Linked DNA regions of Homo sapiens: region 2 is linked to region 1. The links are contacts of gene promoters, found by promoter capture Hi-C in blood cells and fetal thymus (Javierre and others, 2016). All regions are on one chromosome and are shown on one strand. Each heading gives the region's core, a stretch centred on a gene start or on the middle of the fragment in contact. The rest is flanking DNA. Distances are from core to core; before and after follow the strand shown.

Region 1 (3,981 bases), core at 502-3,001:
CACTCGTGAGGCTGCCTTCTGGAACATCAAGACCATTGCTGAGTGCCTGGCGGATGAGCTCATCAATGCCACCAAGGCCTCCTCCAGCTCCTATGCCATCAACAAGAAGGATGAGCTGGAGTGTGGGGACAAGTCCAACCGCTGATTTTCCTGGCTGCTGCCTAATAAACCAGTCTGCCCTTTGGGATGCCTCCCCCACCCCCCCAAAAAAAGTGATGAGATTTGGAAACTTCTAATTGTCCCCTAATATCTAGTTTTCCTTCCTTAGTACTGAAACCCCATTTTCCAGCCTTCTTTGCAATTTGGTGTAGTCAAGTGACTATTTTACTAGCAGAATGAAAACAAAAATGGTACATGCAACCCCCGCCCCTTTCAAAAGGTTCTTAAAGAGAGGAGAGTGTTCCCTTCTGTATCCTCTCTTCTGGTGGAATGCCAGCATTGTGACATATTTCAAAAGTAAATTATTCAGCACATATTTATTGAACACCTAGATCCTAGCCCATGTATAAGAGCTATAGGAGAACATTATCCAGGATGGCATTTTTGGTGATAATTCCATGATACAAAACCTTTTACTTCATTATGCCTCAAGTAAAATGCTTTTTAGATTTCCACTGATAATAACTCTACTTGGCTGGGCACAGTGGCCCACGCTTGTAATCCCAGCATTTTGGGAGGCAGAGGCGGGTGGATCACCTGAGGTCAGGAGTTCAGGATCAGCCAGGTGAAATCCCGTCTCTACTAAAAATACACAAATTAGCCAAGCATGGTGGTGCGCACCTGTAATCCCAGCTACTCGGAAGGCTGAGGTGGGAGGATTGATTGAGCGTGGGAGGTAAGAGGCTGCAGTGAGCCAAGATCACACCACTGCACTCCACCCTGGACAACAGAGCAAGACCCTGTCTCAAAACAAACAAACAAACCACCCAAAAAACAAAGCTCGACTTTCCCCCAAACAACTAAATGGTTATAGGCATTTCTGTAGGAAATTTAGACGGGGCTTCCAAACGCTGTTAAAGTTATGTTGAAAATCCAAGAGGCTGAAAGATATCTGACTATAAGAAAGACGAAAAAAAAAAAAAAAGACAAAAATCTACGTGAATAGACGGGAGAGCGCCGAGCGAAATCAGAAGACTAGTTGTATTGTGAGGATCACCTCGGGTAACCAGCACTCGCTGGGTAGCCCTGGTTTACTAACTTCAACTTTCTGGGGCTCCATTTCTGAATTGAGGGGATTAGAAAAAGGCATCTCTAAAGACCCTCCGTTCCCGAGAACCCTCCCGGAGCACCTTCCCTACTCTGGGCAGCTCGCAGACAGACAAGACTGATCGGCCATAGGCGAAGGGAAACCCTGGTCCCCCGGGTCTCGAGCTCCGTCCGCACGTAATCTCACGGTACTGCACTTCAAGTCAGCGTGCAGAAACGCAGCAGTGGGAGCCCGGCGGCGGCCGCCCACCGGCAGGGGACAGGAGAGGCCCGTCCCGCTCTGCCCGGAACCGTAGATAGCTGGGTCTGAACTCCGGCTCCGGGAGGCCTGCAGAGCAGCCCACCCCGTCCCTCGGAGCTCGCCCTGCCCCCGGCCGGCCACTTGCTGCACGCCGATTGGTCGCGAGGAGCGCCCGGCGTCCCGCTGCGCCCAGCCAACGCCCTCTCCCCGCCCCCTCGCGTCCCGCCCCGCCCCCGGCCGGCCACTTGCTGCGCTCCGATTGGTCGCTGCGGTGCACACGGCGCCTCGCCCCGCCTCACCGGCGCTCTATCCTCGCGTCTGCTCCCAGCTCCGGGCTCCCGGGGCTGAGGTGGAGCCGCGGGACGCCGGCAGGGTTGTGGCGCAGCAGTCTCCTTCCTGCGCGCGCGCCTGAAGTCGGCGTGGGCGTTTGAGGAAGCTGGGTGAGTCCTGTCTGTGGGTCTCCGGCGCCAGGCAACCGTAGAGGGCTCGCGCCCGCCGCCCGCGCGTAAGGAGGCTCCCTCGTCGGGCCCTGTCCGGCCCGGCCTTCTGGGGGCTGTGGGGCCGTCCAGCCGGGTTTTCCCTGCGTTCGGCGCCGGCCTGCAGACTCGGGCCCGCGGAGCCCCCGCCGCCCCTTCTTGCCCCTGCCCGCGTCCCTTCGGGCCGACCGTGACCGTGGCGCCGCCGCGACCCGCAAGCAGCCCGGGGAGGCTGCCCTGCCGCGCTGTCACGCCGTCAGGTTGCGTTCCTGGGGAGGGCTGGAGAGGCTCCATCTCGTGCCTTTCACCTTCTCGCGCGGCGGGCACGGAGGCGACGGTTTTCGGGACGCCCTGCTGCGGCCGCGACGCCCTCCCGAGGCCGGAGCGAGGGCCCCGGGGCGGCTCCAGCCCTTCTTCGCCCCTCCCGTTTGCCCCGAACCATTGCTAGGAGCCTGTGTTTTCTGCACTTTTCTGATTTCATTCTTACGAGAGTCAAGTACAGAGGCGGGAGGGGAAAGGGAAGGGGAACAACATTCTTTCGAGAATTATAAACCTTGAGCTCCGTTAAATAAGTAGCAGCAGAGCATTGTCACTGGAGCAGTGGTAGTCGCGGGTAGGACCGTTTCGGTTTTTAGCCAATAGGCTGGTTAAAGGTACTTAAAACAGTAAGTTGGAAGGTGCTGAAATTCTAAGGTAAATACGTGACCTTTCAAAACCAAAGCAGTGAGACGGGCTAGGCTGGGCTGCTCCCCGCTGCGCGTGCCTGGGTCGGGGGGTGCGGAGGGGCAGGGGGCGGAGGCCTCGGACGGGACGGGGTGGGAGGGAAGTGGCATCCGCATCGTCTTACATCGCGCTGTAAGACCCGATTTTCTCTTTTCGGAGGATCCCATCTCCCTTCTCAGACTCTTCATCCTACCTGCACTGTGGATCCCTTGACACTTCAGAGGCTCTGAACTCTCAGGCCGGTCACACTTTTTCATCATTTTGTTTCTTGTCTTTTAAACCTGCATGCATTTCAAACGTAGAGCAAACATTAAACTTTTTTTTTAAACTGAAGATAGTGGTGCAAGACTTTGTTATTGAAATGCAAACCAAAAGTTATCTTGAATATTTATCGCGCTGGAAAAGCAGGTTTAATTAGAGTGAGGTGGGGACGTATATTTCTTCTTCCGGAGACACAGCCTTCCCACTCACCACCCCAATCCCTCCTCTCTGTCAACTAGGGTTACAGCAGCCTTACACTGGCTAGTCTTTTCTGAATTCTGAATTCACTTCTGGGGGCCAAGGTAAAGAATTTATCGTATTTTATCCTCATTTTCCTTTTCTGTTTTTTTTGAGACAGAGTCTCCCTCGTTGACCAGGCTACAAGTACAGTGGCCCGATCTCTGCTCACTGCAGCCTGCACCTCTAGGGTTAAAGGGATTTTACAGCCTCAGCCTCCCGAGTAGCTGGGATCACAGGCGCCTGCCACCATGCCTGGCTAATTTTTATATTCTTAGTAGAGAGAGAGTTTCACCATGTTGGCCAGGCTGGTCTTGAACTCCTGACCTCAAGTGATCCGCTTGCCTCGGTCTCTGAAAGTACTGGGATTACAGGTGTGGGCACCGCGCCTGGCCTTTTAAAGTGTATTATTATTATTTTTAAATTTATTTATTTATTTATTTTTTGAGACAGAGTCTTGCTCTGTCTCCCAGGCTGGAGTGCAGTGGCAAGATCTCGGCTCACTGCAAGCTCCACGTCCTGGGTTCACGCCATTCTCCTGCCTCAGCCTCCCTAGTAGTTGGGACTACAGGCGCCCACCACCACGCCCGGCTAATTTTTTGTATTTTTAGTAAAGACGGGTTTTCACCGTGTTAGCCAGGATGGTCTCGATCTCCTGACCTCGTGATCCACCTGCCTCAGCCTCCCAAAGTGCTGGGATTACAGGCGTGAGCCACTGTGCCCGGCCTAAAGTTTATTTTTAACTTATGTATATATATATATAATTTTTGAGGCCGAGTTTTGCTCTTGTTGCCCAGGCTGGAGTGCAATGGCGCTATCGTGGCTCACTGCAACCTC
Region 2 (3,981 bases), core at 1,116-3,615, 1.2 Mb after region 1:
CCTTTGCCTTCTGCCATGACTGTGAAGCCTCCCCCGCCATGTGAAACTGTGAGTCCATTAAACCTCTTTCCTTTATAAATTATCCAGCCTCGGATATGTCTTTCTTAGCAGCCGAGAACAAACTAAAACACTTGGCTAGAGATGCATCCTCCCTGTGCCAAGCATGGAGGTTCACACCTGTAATCCTAGCACTTTGGGAGGCAGAGGCAGGTGGATCATGAGGTCAGGAGATCGAGACAATCCTGGCCAACATAGGGAAACCCCGTCTCTACTGAAAATACAAAAATTAGCTGGGTGTGGTGGTGGGCGCCTGTAATCCCAGCTACTCAGGAGGCTGAGGCAGGAGAATCACTTGAACCAAGGAGTCGGAAGTTGCAGCGAGCCAAGATTGCGCCACTGCACCCCAGCCTGGCAACAGAGCAAGACTCAGTCTCAAAAAAAAAAAGAAAAAAAAAAGAAATGTGTCCTCCCTGGGTGGATTCTCCTGCCCGGGAAGTGCTGGGGCAGTGGACATGGCCATCTGGAGTGAGCTCTGGCCACCACTTCCCAGCTGCCTTTAACGTCATCCATAAAATGGGACAATATTGGCTCACAGATATCCTCAGGATGAAATGAGATGATGTATAAAACGACTTAAATGTGGTTACAGCGCTGGCACAAATGAAGAGTACCAAGTGATGAACCCACTGGGCAGAGGCCATGCTTTCAGATGGCACTCGCCTAAGAATGCTCTCCCCACCTCCCTCCTCCCCTCCCCCCCCCATCATGGGAAGGTGTCAGCTCCTCAGGGAATGACTCCTAAATCTTGCTGAGGATCCACTTTGCCGCCCTGAGCATTCCAGGAATGTTACCAAGTGCCTTGAGAGCATTTTCTTTAGTAAGCCATGTAGCTGGTCAGGATGTATAGTGTCATCAGTTTGCCCCTGTGAAATAGCCCAGAAGGCCTGTGCCCCCCAGGGAGCTGGGCGTGGTGGAGGCAGCCCCTGGGCTTGCCGGACCAGACCAGGGATCTTTGCACCTTCCCTGGCATAGGGCGGCTGCAGGTCATCTCAGAAGAGTAGTAAAGAAAGGTGACATCACTCGTTTATCCCTCAGATGTGTCTTGGGTATAAAAATGTGCTTAAATTGAATGTGAGTTCTAAAAACTGAAAGAAAAGAACAGATTTCAGGCTGTGCACAGTGGCTCCTGACCTCAGTGATGCCATCTCGGCTAACTGCAACCTCTGCCTCCCAGGTTCAAGCGATTCTCTTGCCTCAGCCTCCCGAGTAGCTGGGATTACAGGCACCGGCCACGATGCCCAGCTAATTTTTGTATTTTTAATAGAGACAGGGTTTCGCCAAGCTGGCCAGGCCAGTCTCGAACTCCTGACCCCAGGTGATCCACCCACCTCGGCCTCTCAAAGTGCTAGGATTACAGGTCTGGAGTTTGAGACTGGCCTGGCCAACTTGGCAAAACCCTGTCTCTACTAAAAATACAAAAATTAGCTGTGCGTCGTGGCGGGTGCCTGTAATCCCAGCTACTCGGGAGGCTGAGGCAAGAGAATAGCTTGAACTTGGGAGGTGGAGGTTGCAGTGAGCCGAGATCACGCCACTGCACTCCAGCCTGGGTGACACAGCGAGATTCTTGTCTCAAAAACAAAAAAAAAAAAATGAATTTCTTCATTGCTCTAAAGCTACCTTCCATATGTGACCAAAGGTGAGCGGAAATGGCCTGGCGAGTGTAGCCCTGGTGGGTGAGACACCACGGGCAGGGCAGGCAGGGGCGGGGAGGAGAATCAGAGGCCCCTTCAAGGTAATGTTGGGCTGTGGTATGGTTTGTCCCCACCAAAACTCGTGGAGACCTGGTCCCCAGTGTGGCAACACTGGGAGCTGGGACCTTTAAGAGGTAATGAGTTTTTTTTTTCTCTAGACTGAATTAGATCTTTTTACAAAATGAGGCCCTCACCAGAAGCTAAGCAGATGTCGGTGCCATGCTTCCTAGACTTCTAAGCCTTCAGAACCATGAGCTAAATAAGCCTCTTTTCTTCATAAATTACTCAGCCTCAGGTATTCTGTTACAGCAACAGAAAACACTAAGACGCTGTGCCAATGCGCGAGTCCACGGCTCTTCACGGGACCTGGCATGGGACGCACTGGCTCAGGGGCTCCAAGGCCACTCAGCTCTTCCTCAGCACAGTTTGGCTCATCTCTCTGCTGACCAGCTTCCTACGCTTAGGGTTTCCAGTCCCCAAGACTTCCGTCCGTAATGGACATAATGGTCTATAATGGCACCCAGCCCTAGTCCTCCTCCTGGACCAATCAGTGCAGCCCCCATAGCCACCAGGTCCATCCCTCAGGTTCTAGATTCCAAATTCCAAAGATGAGAATCTGACCAGTCCCAGCTCTTTTGCCAGGGCACACGTTTCCAAGGGCATGGGCCAGCCACTGGACAGGCCCTCTTCGGGTGAGCGATGGCAAAATATAGGGTCCCTCCTAAGAACAGTCATTAGGAGAGCAGCAGCTGTGAGGGCTGATTAGCCTAGAAGGGAACATTGGATGTGTCAGCCAATCCTCTAGCACAACAGAATTAACATAAAACAAGGTGGGTTCCAATTACTCCTTAAAACTCCTGGATTTCACCTCCAATTTAGTGGCACACAGCAGGCATCTGAGAACAGATGCTGGCCATAGGTGCCTAAGGTAAGGATCTTTCTTTTTCTTTTTTCTTTTTTTTTTCTTTTTGGAGACAGAGTTTCTCTCTTCTTGCCCAGGCTGGAGTGCAGTGGTGCAATCTCGGTTCACTGCAACCTCTGCCTCCTGCGTTCAAGCGATTCTCCTGCTTGGCCTCACGAGTAGCTGGGATTACAGGCATACACCACCACACCTGGCTGATTTTTTAAAAATATTTTCAGTAGAGATGGGGTTTCACCATGTTGGCCAGTCTGGTCTCAAAGGCCTGATCTCAGGTGATCCGCCCACCTTGGCCTCCCAAAGTGCGGGGATTACAGGTGTGAGCCCCCACACCTGGCCAAAGGTAAGGTTCTTATGTTCCTGGTGAGCTGGCCGGCAAGACTTAATGCCCATGGTGTCAAGTTGGCTTCATTTTCTTTAACAGCTTTAGTGAGATATATTTTCATTCCATGAGGTTGACTCATTTAAAGAGTACAATTTCAGTGGTCTTCAGTACATCCATAGAGTTGTGCAACCATCACCATAATCTAATTTTAGAACTTTTTGTTTGTTTGTTGAGACAGGGTCTTGTTCTATCACCCAGGCTAGAGTGCAGTGGCGCAATCACAGCTCACTGCAGCCTTGACCTGCTGGGCTCTAGTGATCCTCCTGCCTCAGCCTCCTGAGTAGCCGGGACTACAGGTGCGCACTACCATGCCCAGCTAACTTTTTGTTATTTTTTATGGAGATAGGGTCTCGAACCCCTGGGCTCAAGCGATCCTCCTGCCTTGGCTTCCCAAGGTGCTGGGATTACAGCAGGTGTGAGCTACTGGGCCTGGCTTAATTTTAGAACTTCTTTTTTTTTTTTTTTTTTGAGACGGAGTCTCACTCTGTTGCCCAGACTGGAGTGTAGTGGCACAGTCTCGGCTCACTGCAACCTCCGCCACCTGGGTTCCAGCAATTCTCCTGCCTCAGCCTCCTGAGTAGCTGGGATTACAAGTGCGTGCCACCACGCCCGGCTAATTTTTGTATTTTTAGTAGAGACAGGGTTTCACCAAGTTGGCTAGGCTGGTAACTTGAACTCCTGACCTCAAGTGATCCACCCATCTCAGCCTCCCAAAGTGCTGGGATTACAGGCGTGAGCCACCACGCCCAGCTTAATTTTAGAACATTTTTATCATCCCCAAAAGAAACCCATCAGTAGTCATTCCCCCTTCCCCGCTCTCCCCCCAGACCTAGGCAGCTGCTAATCTGCTTTCTGTCTCTACAGAATTTGATTTGCCTACTCTGGATGTTTTGTGTGAATGGAGTCATACAACATGCAGCTCTGTG

What was found. Contacts are between HindIII fragments. The CHiCAGO score rates a contact against its expected background, and 5 or more counts as called.
Region 2: the fragment with the promoter of MRAP-AS1 here is called in contact with the fragment with the promoter of TMEM50B in region 1 in 1 of 17 cell types (activated CD4 T cells); the score reaches 5.4 in activated CD4 T cells.

The regions. Positions count from the first base shown.
Region 1 is chr21:33,477,744-33,481,724 of GRCh38, reverse strand. It overlaps TMEM50B (transmembrane protein 50B), which reads left to right and starts at 1,751. Exons shown (of 7, transcript NM_006134.7): 1 at 1,751-1,887. It also overlaps the pseudogene RPS5P3. The HindIII fragment of the contact is 5,416 bases long and covers 1-3,981 here.
Region 2 is chr21:32,307,119-32,311,099 of GRCh38, reverse strand. It overlaps MRAP-AS1 (MRAP antisense RNA 1), which reads left to right and starts at 2,365. Exons shown (of 2, transcript NR_187556.1): 1 at 2,365-2,581. The region is part of intron 2 of MRAP (melanocortin 2 receptor accessory protein); the gene reads right to left. URB1 (URB1 ribosome biogenesis factor) reads left to right here. Exons shown (of 39, transcript NM_014825.3): 39 at 1-82. The HindIII fragment of the contact is 11,077 bases long and covers 1-3,981 here.